2 separate regions of the Homo sapiens genome follow, and region 1 is linked to region 2. Evidence: promoter capture Hi-C in human tissues and cell types (Jung and others, 2019). All regions are on one chromosome and are shown on one strand. Each heading gives the region's core, a stretch centred on a gene start or on the middle of the fragment in contact. The rest is flanking DNA. Distances are from core to core; before and after follow the strand shown. Region 1 overlaps CECR2 (CECR2 histone acetyl-lysine reader). Region 2 holds the start of ATP6V1E1 (ATPase H+ transporting V1 subunit E1).

Region 1 (5,313 bases), core at 1,077-3,576, 240 kb before region 2:
TGTTTCTCATGCCCGAACTGACCCATCTGTTTAATTCCCCCATGAGGCAGGCATCACCATGACAGCACTGTAGGAAACAGGCTCAGAGTGAAGCGATTTACCCAAGGCCGCATGCCCAGCGGGTGGCAGAACCCATACCGGCAGACTTCAGGAAAATGCGGAGGCATTTTTTGGTAAATGAATTGAACAGTACTGCTAGTGAGACAGGAAAACTGACATCCAGTGCGGGTTCTTGAGAGTATATGGGAAGGTGGGTGAGATTAAATTTTAGCTAGTGTCGTGGTATTAGAAAGGAATCTTTTACGCAATTTACGGAGAACACTGAGTCAGGAGACATTTTAGAAGTGAAAGCAATTCAGTTTTTTCTTCACTTGCTTAAATTACTTACAAAATATGTTAATAACTGTTAAGAGCTCCTTTTATCATTTTTCCACTCTACTGTAACTCTGGGTTGGGTTTTTTAAAAACTTTGTTTATTTTATTTTAGTATTTTTTTTTGAGGTGGAGTCTCACTCTGTCGCCCAGGCTGGAGTGCAGTGGCACGATCTCAGCTCACTGCAGCCTCAGCCTCCGGGTTCAAGCAGTTCTCCTGCTTCAGCCTCTCGAGTAGCTGGAACTACAGGCACACTCCACCATGCCCGGATAACTTTTGTATTTTTAGTAGAGACGGGGTTTCACCATGTTGGCCAGGCTGGTCTCGAACTCCCTGAATTCAAGTGATCCACCCTCCTTGGCCTCCCAAAGTGCTGGGATTACAGGTGTGAGCCACTGCGCCCGGCCTTAAAAACTTTATTTTTAAGTAATGTCAGACTTAACGGAAACTTAGAAGGCTGGTACACAGAATTCCTAAGCTCCCTACCCAGATTCCCCACGTGTTCAGTTTTACACCATGTGCTTTACTGCCATCTCCCTCTTTCTCCCCACCAAGCTATCTTCATAGTTACTTTTTGTTTTATATTTTATCATAAAAGTTACATGAATTTTGGTACCATTCTCTTCTGTCTCCCAACTGCCTGCCTGCCTGTCCGGCTAGCTAGCTAGGCATCTCTAGCTGTGTAATTACTGTTTTTCTACACTGAGAATAAGTTGAAGACGTGATACCTTTCACTCCTTGACATTTTAGTGTTTTTATGACTTAAAAACATTGTTTTTTTCTTTTGAGGTGGGGTCTCACGCTGTGTTGCCCAGGTTGGTCTTGAACTCCTGGGCTCAAGCAATCCTTCTGACTCAGCCTCCCAAGTAGCTAGGACTACAAGCATGAGCCGCCACGCCCAGCTCGGGGATATTCTTTTTTATTTATTTATTTATTTTTGAGATGGAGTCTCACTCTGTTGCCCAGGCTGGAGTTCAGTGGCACGATCTTGGCTCACTGCAACCTCCGCCTCCTGGGTTAGAGCAGTTCTCCTGCCTCAGCCTCCCAAGTAGCTGGGACTACAGGCATGCGCCACAACGCCCGGCTAATTTTTGTGTTTTTAGTAGAGACGGGGTTTTGCCATGTTAGCCAGGCTGGTCTTGAACTCCTGACCTCAGATGATCCGCCCACCTCGGCGTCCCAAAATGCTGGGATTACAGGCATGAGCCACTGTGCCTGGCCGGAATATTCTCTTATACATATAAGTACAATTATTAAAATCAGGAACTTAATACTGAGTAAGATCTGTAGATAATAGTATATCAAATGTTGCCAATTGAGCCAATAATATATATAATTTGTACATTATTTTTATGAATTTTAAATATATTATTATTTTAGAAATTGTTTCTGGTTCAGGTTTTCAGTCTAGGATCAGGCATTCCATTAGTTGTTGAGTCTCTTTAGTCTCCTTTAAAATAGAGCCGTTTTTCAGTGTTTGTCTTTCTTGAGCTTGACCTTTTTGGAAGACTAAAAGCCATTCATTCTATTGACGGTCCCTCCACTTGGGCTTGTTGGAAGTCCTCTCAGGATAACTTGGGTCATGTGTTTTTGGCGGGAGTGCTGAAGAGGGCCGTGCCCTTGGTGCATAGTATCAGCAGTTACATCACTTTCATTGTGCCCTTTATTGGTGGTGGTTACTAACTTTGATCACTTGGTTAGGGTGATGTCTGCTTTCCACTGCAAAGTTACTGTTTTTCTCTTATAATTAACAAGTACGTTGTGGGGAGATACTTTGCAAACATCCTGTTTCTTCTCCAAATTAACCCGTTAGGAATTGCCTGAATCAGTGATTACATCACAGTTGCCAGATTCCTTTTTACAAGTTGGCGTGCAGTTTTCATCCATAAAGTTTAAGCGTTTGATTCTAAACCAGGTGTTTTTATTTTGTTTTGTTTTGTTTTGTTTTTTGAGACAGGTCTTGGTCTGTTGCCGAAAGTGGAGTGCAGTGGCACCATCATAGCTCAGCAGCCTCAACCTCGCCGGTCCCAAAGTGCTTGAATGACAGGCGTGAGCCACCACTCCTGACCCAAAACCATTTGTTTTTAATATCTGATAAAAATATAATTTATAAAAAGACTTTGATTTTTTTAACTTTGAAAATTAATCTAAAGGAGATGAACACTGATAAACAATGTTCAGAAAGTGAAATTACTTTTTAAAGCTTCAGCTTTTTAAAGCTTTTCCTATTTTATTTTGAGAATTTTCAGATGTTCGGTGAAGTTCAAAGATAAGTGAACCCCTGCGTACCCTTTACTCTAGATGTACCAATTGTTAACACTTTTGCCACATTGGCTGAACCATTTGAAAGTAAGTCGACTGTGTCATGAGAGTCTACCCCTTCATAGTTTCACATGTACATGTACTTCCTATGAATAAGGACTTTCTCTTGTATGACCACAATGTTATACTCACATTTAGGAAAATTAACAGTAATTCTGTAATAACATCCAGTAAACAGTTCACACTGAAATATCCTCAGTTGTCCCCACAGTGTCTTTTATAGATGTACCACACCTCCATCCTGGTTTACACACTGGTTGGTTGGTAGGGGAATTGTTTTTAGGCAGGCTGAAGCCAACCCAGTTATCCTAGATGTAGGGAAACCGGGAAACATTGGTAAAATGATTTAAATTTCAAGCTGCAGGGCTACTAGTGAAGTAATTACAACAGAGAGTTGATTGGAATCACTCTGGCTCCGGTCCAGGCTTTGCCCAAGGTCTGGACCTGTCACTTAGCCCTGTTGAGCCTCAGCTTGTTCATCTGCATCTTGGTTGTCTCGTGTTCCATAGGGCTGTGGTGAGGTTCGAATGAGCCAAGCATGTGAGGGCCTGGCCCAAATAGATCTCAGCAACTGGTAATTATTGTTACATTTTCTTTCATTTTAGATTTTGATTATGGTAATAATATGGAAATTATAATCATTTGGGAGAAAGGAATTAACTGACAAATAAATTGAATGATCACATATTATTTTGAAATCAAAGTATAATGAAATAAAATTGTAAAAATATACCAATATAGTGTGCTTATGTGGATTAAAGTGATTGTTGAATACAGATGCTTTTGTTTGTTTGAGACGGAGTCTCACACTCTTACAGGCGGGAGTACAGTGGCGCAATCTCCGCTCACTGTAACTTCCGTCTCCCAGGTTCAAGCAATTCCCCCGTCTCAGCTTCCCGAGTAACTGGGATTACAGGCATGCGCCACCACACCCAGCTAATTTTTGTATTTTTAGTAGAGACGGGGTTTCACCATGTTAGCCAGGCTGGTCTCGAACTCTCGAACTCCCAAACTCAGGTGATCCACCTGCTTCGGCCTCCCAAAGTGCTCGGATTACAAGTGTGAGCCACCGCGTCTGGCCGAATACAAATGTTTTTTGTTTAAAAAAATAAGCGTGGCTTGGTAGCTCATGCCTGTAATCCCAGTCCTTTGGGAGGCTGAGATGGGAGGATTGCTTGAGGTTAGGACTTGGAGACCAGCCTGGGAACATAGTAAGACCGTGTCTCAACAACAAAAAAAATTTTTAATTGGCCAGGCGCAGTGGCCAGCCTGGCCAACATGGCGAAACCCTGTCTCTACTAAAAATACAAAATTACAGGCATGGTGGTGCATGCCTGTAATCCCAGCTACTCAGGAGGCTGAGGCAGGAGAATCGCTTGAACCTGGGAGGCGGAGGTTGCAGTGAGCCAAGATCGTGCCATTGCACTCCAGCCTGGGCGACAGTGAGACTCCGTCTCAAAAATAGAATAATAAAATAAAACAAAACCAGGCATGGTGTTGCATACCTGTAGTCTCAGCTACTTGGGAAGCTGGGCTGGGAAGATTGCTTGAGCCAGGGAGGTGGAAGTTGTTGAGTCAGGGAGATGGAGGTTGCAGTGAGCCGAAATTATACCACTGCACTCCAGCCTGAGTGACAGAGCAAGACCTTGTCTCAAAGAAAAAAAAAAACAGCTTTATTGAGATATTATTTACATACTATACAACTCATTCATTTAAAGTGTTCAACAAGTAGGCCGGGCACGGTGGCTCACACCTGTAGTCCCAGCACTTTGGGAGGCCGAGGTGGGCAGATCACAAGGTCAGGAGTTCAAGACCAGCCTGGCCAACATGGTGAAACCCCGTCTCTACTAAAAATACAAAAATTAGCCAGGTGTGGTGACACCCGCCTGTAATTCCAGCTACTCGTGAGGCTGAGGCAGGAGAATGGCTTGAGCCCAGAAGGTGGAGGTTGCAGTCAGTTGAGATCACGCCACTGCACTGCAGCCTGGGTGACAGAGTGAGACTCTGTCTCAGAAAATAGTGTTCCAGTTAGTGGGTTTTAGTATATTTACAAATAGTTACAACTGTTGCCACCGTAACCATACCTTTATAAGGTTTTCATCACCTCAAAAAGAAACCCTGTACCCTTGAGCTCCCTGCCTCCCCAGCTCTCCCTACCTCTTGTTTCCCCAGCCTAAGCAAATTACTCTCTGCTTTTATAGATTTTCCTTTTTGGGCCTTCATAATGAGTAGAATCATGTAGTATGTGCCCCTTTGTGATTGGATTTTTCATTTAGCATAATGTTTTTAGGTTTCATCCAAGTTGTAGAAAGTATCAGTATATAATTCCTTTTTATAGCTATATTTAAAGCTATACATTGTATATAATAATTTTTATTTTATTTACCCATTGGTGGACATTTAGGTTATTTCCCCCTTTTGGCTATTATAAATAATGCTGCTCTAAACATTTGTGTGCAGGTTTTTGTGAGGACATGTGTTTTCAGTTCTGTTAGGTATGTACTAAGAAGTGGAATTGGTGGGTCATACAGTAACGAGGCTTCACCTGTGAACTGCCTGGTTATAGAGTGGCAGCACTATTTTATGTGCCCATCAGCAGTATATGAGTGTTCCAGTTT
Region 2 (4,962 bases), core at 2,095-4,594:
TGCACCACCTCGCCCGGCTAATTTTGAATTTTAGTAGAGACAGGGTTTCTCCATGTTGGTCAGGCTGGTCTCAAACTCCCAACCTCAGGTGATCTCAAACTCCCAACCTCAGGTGATCTGCCCGCCTCGGCCTCCCAAAGTGCTGGGATTACAGGCGTGAGCCGGCCAGGAAAAAATTTTATTGCTCATCTCAGAAGATTCATAAGACAGTGAGTGTGCTTTAGTAAGAGAATTTTCCTAGCACAGTACTTCAGAAAAAAAAGGACTTAGTTCTCTAAACTATGTGCAAATTAAAACTGCAGCCTTAAACTTCCTTCTCTGAAAAATCTATCGGCAATATGATTACTAAATGCAAGGATTCTGATTTGTTAGTTATAGGCTTATAAACTGCTACTATATTCCCCTGAGAGTCTTTTGCATGACAAAATTCTTAATACCTACAGACTTGAAGGTATGGCACTTAAAAAAAAAAAAAAAGTTTCCCAGGACTGATTACACTTTGAAAACTGATGTGGGTTCACGACTTCCACAACAATTTTTTCCCATAAACTCTGATACATCTACTTGGTGCCAAACACCGTTAGGCATTGAGGCTCCTAAATGTAAGCAAAAGGGGTCCTGGCCAGGCGCGGTAGCTCATGCCTGTAATCCCAGCACTTTGGGAGGCCGAGGTGGGCAGATTACGAGGTCAGGAGATCAAGACCATCCTGGCTAATACAGTGAAACCCCATCTCTAATAAAAAATAGAAAAAATTAGCCAGGCGTGGTGGCGGGCGCCTGTAAGTCCCAGCTTCTCGGGAGGCTGGGGCAGGAGAATGGCATGAACCCAGGAGGTGGAGCTTGCAGTGAGCGGAGACCATGCCACTGCACTCCAGCCTGGGCAACAGAGCGAGACTTCGTCTCAAAAAAAAAAAAAAAAAAAAAGAAAGAAAAGAAAAAGCGGTCTTCCATTTGACACAATTTTGTTTATTTATTTAATATTTTTAGAGACAGGGTCTTTTGCTCTCTCACCCAGGATGGAGCACAGTGGCATGATCATAGCTCACTGCAGCCTCGACCCCTTGGGCTCAAATGATTCTCCCACATCAGCCTCCCTAAGTAGCTAGGAGCACATGTGTGCCCCACCACACCTGGCAATTTTTTTTTTTTTTTGAGACAGTCTCGCTCTGTTGCCCAGGCAGCAATGGTGTGATCTCGCCTCACCATAACCTCCACCTCCCGGGTTCAAGAAATTCTCCTGCCTCAGCCTCCTAGTAGTTGGGATTACAGGCATATGCCAGCACGCCCCACTAATTTTGTATTTTTAGTAGAGACAGGGTTTTGCCACGTTGGCCAGGCTGGTCTGGAACTCCTGACCGCAGGTGATATGCCCACCTCGGCCTTCCAAAGTGCTGGGATTACAGGCATGAGCAACCATGCCCAGACAGCCTGGCTTATTTTTTAAGAAAAAATTTTTTAGAGATAAGGTCTATGTTGCCCAGGCTGGTCTTGAACTCCTGGGATCAAGCGATCCTCCCACCTCAGCCTCCCAAAGTGCTGGGGGCTACAGGTGTGAGCCACCACACCTGGCGTGTATTTGTGTTTATTAATATTAAAATTTTTTGAGATGGAGTCTCACTCTGTCACCCAGGCTGGAGTGCAGTGGCACAATCTTGGCTCACTGCAACCTCCGCCTGCCGGGTTCAAGCGATTCTCCTGCCTCTGCCTCCTGAGTAGCTGGGACTACAGGCGCACCCCACTAGGCCCAGACAATCTTTTTTTTTTTATTTTTTTGAGAGGGAGTCTCGCTCTGCCGCCCAGGGTCGCTCGGCCTCCCGGGTTCACGCCATTCTCCTGCCTCAGCCTCCCGAGTAGCTGGGACTACAGGCGCCCGCCACCATGCCCGGCTAATTTTTTGTATTTTTAATAGAGATGGGGTTTCACCATGCTGGCCAGGCTCGTCTCGAACTCCTGACCTCAGGTGATCCGCCCTCCTCAGCCTCCCAAAGTGCTGGTATTACAGACGTGAGCCACCATGCCCGGCCCCAGCCTGTATCTCACAAATGTTAACACACACATTAGTGGGAGACCAATCATTACAATCCATTATGATAGAGGGGACTTCCCCAAAATGAAGATTAACAGTACATACAGGCCTGGCGCGTTGGCTCATGCCTGTAATCCCAGCACTTTGGGAGGCCCAGGTGGGAAGATCACCTGAGGTCAGGAGTTCAAGACCAGCCAGGCCAATATGGTGAGACCCTGCCTCTACTAAAAAAAATACAAAAATTAGCCGGGCTTGGGGCGCGAGTCTGTAATCCCAGCTTCTAGGGAGGCTGAGGCAGGAGAATCACTTGAACCCGGGGCGGAGGTTGCAGTGAGCCGAGATCGCGCCCTTGCACTCCAGCCTGGGCGACAGAGTGAGACTCCGTCTCAAAAAAAAAAAAAAGAAAAAAAGAAAAAAACACAGTTCATAAAGTGAACGACCTTGTCAAAACACTGGTTGGAAGCAGGTCTCTTCCCTCCGCACTGTTTCCTATCATATAGCCTTAAGCATTTCCCTCAGGGTTAAAAAAAAAAAAAGTGACAAGGCTGGTTTGTTTTTTTTTTTTCTTTTTCCAGAGGGAGTCTCGCCCTGTCGCCCATGCTGGAGTGCAAAGGCGCGATCTCGGCTAACTGCAACCTCCGCCTCCGGGTTCAGCTTCCCGAGTAGCTGGGATTACAGGCGCGCGCCACCACGTCCGGCTAATTTTCTATTTTTAGTAGAGACCGGGGTTTCACCATTTTGGCCAGGCTAGTCTCGGACTCCTGACCTCAGGTGATCCGGCCGCCTCGGCCTCCCAAAATACTGGGATTACAGGCGTGAGCCACTGCCCCTGGCCACAAGGCTGTTTTCAATCCTTGCACAGATCTCTGTCCGACTAGGCACAGTGAATACCCTTGGAAAACAGGGAATGCTGAGGTGGGAGGCAAAGAGCCAGGGCGTTCAAGAAGGCAGCGCGCAGGCAAGCGGGCAGTGCCCAAGACCCGAGCAAAAGTCACATGAGCTGCGGGGCAAATCTCCGTCCTCAGGCCGACCTCTTGGATCTGGTGACTTGGAGCAAGGGACCTTCCTGCGGCATCTGGGCGGCTCAAGGCCCGCGGCCTTCCCTAGGCGGGCTCCAGCCCACTCCCCGGGACTGCCGCCGCGGCTTCGTAAGACCCAACCAAGCCCCTCACCTGCTTTTGCACGTCAGCATCGCTGAGAGCCATGGCGAGAGCAATGCTAGGCCGGTGAACAGTAGGCTCGAGTTTAGGTTTGAAAGGTGAGGTGAGAGAAATCGGCAAAGGGAACCCCTGCGCAGATCTCGGGTTCCTTTACTTTATAACCGCGGGTTCCGGTTCCTGCCAGGTGACTGCACAGTTCATCCTCATGACCCTTCTCAGCCAATGGGAAGAGAGCGACGCCCAGGAAGTCCCGCCCTGTCCCGGCCTGTGGGCGCGTCCTCGGGTCCTTCTACGTCGCTGACTCGTGACCTGACCGGTATTTTTTTCCTAAACTGGGATCTTGGGTAGGAGGAAGAAAAGATAAGGAGTTCCTCTATCTGAAATTAGTCGGGCTGTTTTGAGGAGTACTGGTTAGGTATATTGGAGAATGTGCCTTTATTGGAATTTTTCGCATAATTACACAGGGTTATGGGCTTAGGGGTACATGATTGTTGGCCGGGCGTGGTGGCTCACGCCTGCAATCCGGAGACTTTGGGAGACCAAGGCGGGTGTATCGCTTGACCTCAAGTTCGAGACCAGGCTGGACAACATAGAGGAACCCCGTCTCTACCAAAAGAAAAAAAAAAGGGGGATACATGATTTCTGACTATTCATGTCAACCTTGATTACCTGAATAAAGTGTAGGGTTTGTAGGTTTCTCCACTCTGAAGTTACCTTTTTTAACCCCCTTTCCATACTGTAGTCTTAGGAAGGAAGCCACTATACAAAGCCCACACCTAGGGAGTGGGAAGCTATGCTCAACTTCCTTATTAGGGTGGAGCAGCTACATAATTTATTTGGAACTTTTCTGAGATAGCCTATATATTTTTCAAAAGCCTTCCCAGGTCCCATTTAGAGGAATATTAGGACAGAAATCCCCCCAGGCTCATTTGTTTTTATTTGGATTTACCTCAAGCCCGTTTTTTTCCCCAAAATCCCAAAGGCAAAAACTTTTGAAAATTCCTTTATCTTTAGGATAGACTGACTCCTAATAGTAGAATAAGAGGTCAAATGGTACACCCACTTTTTTCTTTTTACTGTGCTATGGTTACCCACCATTTTTATTAGCTTTTTATCTTGAAGAAATTTGAGATATAGTAACTTGTAAGAATACTGCATTGACCTCCCTTCACCTAGATTCAACAATTGTTAACATTTTGCTACATGTACATTAACACTTTATTTTCATACACACACACACACACACACACACACACACTTCCTATTTTAGTGTGTCATAAGAACGAGGATGTAGCAAATTCAGGAAATTTAGTTTACTAGGCTGAACATTAATTTCCTTTGTCCCGGGCCAGGCGCGGTGTCTCACGCCTGTAATCCCACCACTTTGGGAGGCTGAGGTGGGCAGATCACCTGAGGTCGGGATTTCGAGACCAGCCTGACCAACATGGAGAAACCCCAGTCTCTACTAAAAATACAAAATTAACAGGCGTGGTGGTGTGTGCCTGTAATCCCAGCCACTGGAGAGGCTGAGGCAGGAGAATTGCTTCAACCCAGGAGCAGAGGTTGCGGTGAGCCAAGATCGTGCCACTGCACTCCAGCCTGGGCAATAAGAGTGAGACTCCGTCTCAAAAAAACAAAAAAAAAAAAAACAAATTCCTTTGTCCCATCAATCCATCAATGTACTTTATAACCCTTTCTTTTTTTTTTGAGACAGAGTCTCACTCTGTCGCCCAGGCTGCAGTGCAACGGCATGGTGTCAGCTCACTACAACCTCTG

What was found. Contacts are between HindIII fragments. The study calls those that stand out against the background at their distance.
Region 1: a fragment that was not itself captured here is called in contact with the fragment with the promoter of ATP6V1E1 in region 2 in 1 of the 25 tissues and cell types used here (H1 embryonic stem cells).

Annotation. Positions count from the first base shown.
Region 1 is chr22:17,388,334-17,393,646 of GRCh38, forward strand. All of the region lies in intron 1 of CECR2 (CECR2 histone acetyl-lysine reader), which reads left to right. Among named protein-coding and RNA genes, the nearest start is that of CECR2, 22 kb to the left of the region's middle. The HindIII fragment of the contact is 4,080 bases long and covers 287-4,366 here.
Region 2 is chr22:17,625,405-17,630,366 of GRCh38, forward strand. It overlaps ATP6V1E1 (ATPase H+ transporting V1 subunit E1), which reads right to left and starts at 3,345. Exons shown (of 9, transcript NM_001696.4): 1 at 3,199-3,345. The coding sequence starts at 3,231. It also overlaps a transcript of BCL2L13 not described here. RefSeq lists enhancers at 3,040-3,189, 3,270-3,359, 3,301-3,470. The HindIII fragment of the contact is 10,651 bases long and covers 1-4,962 here.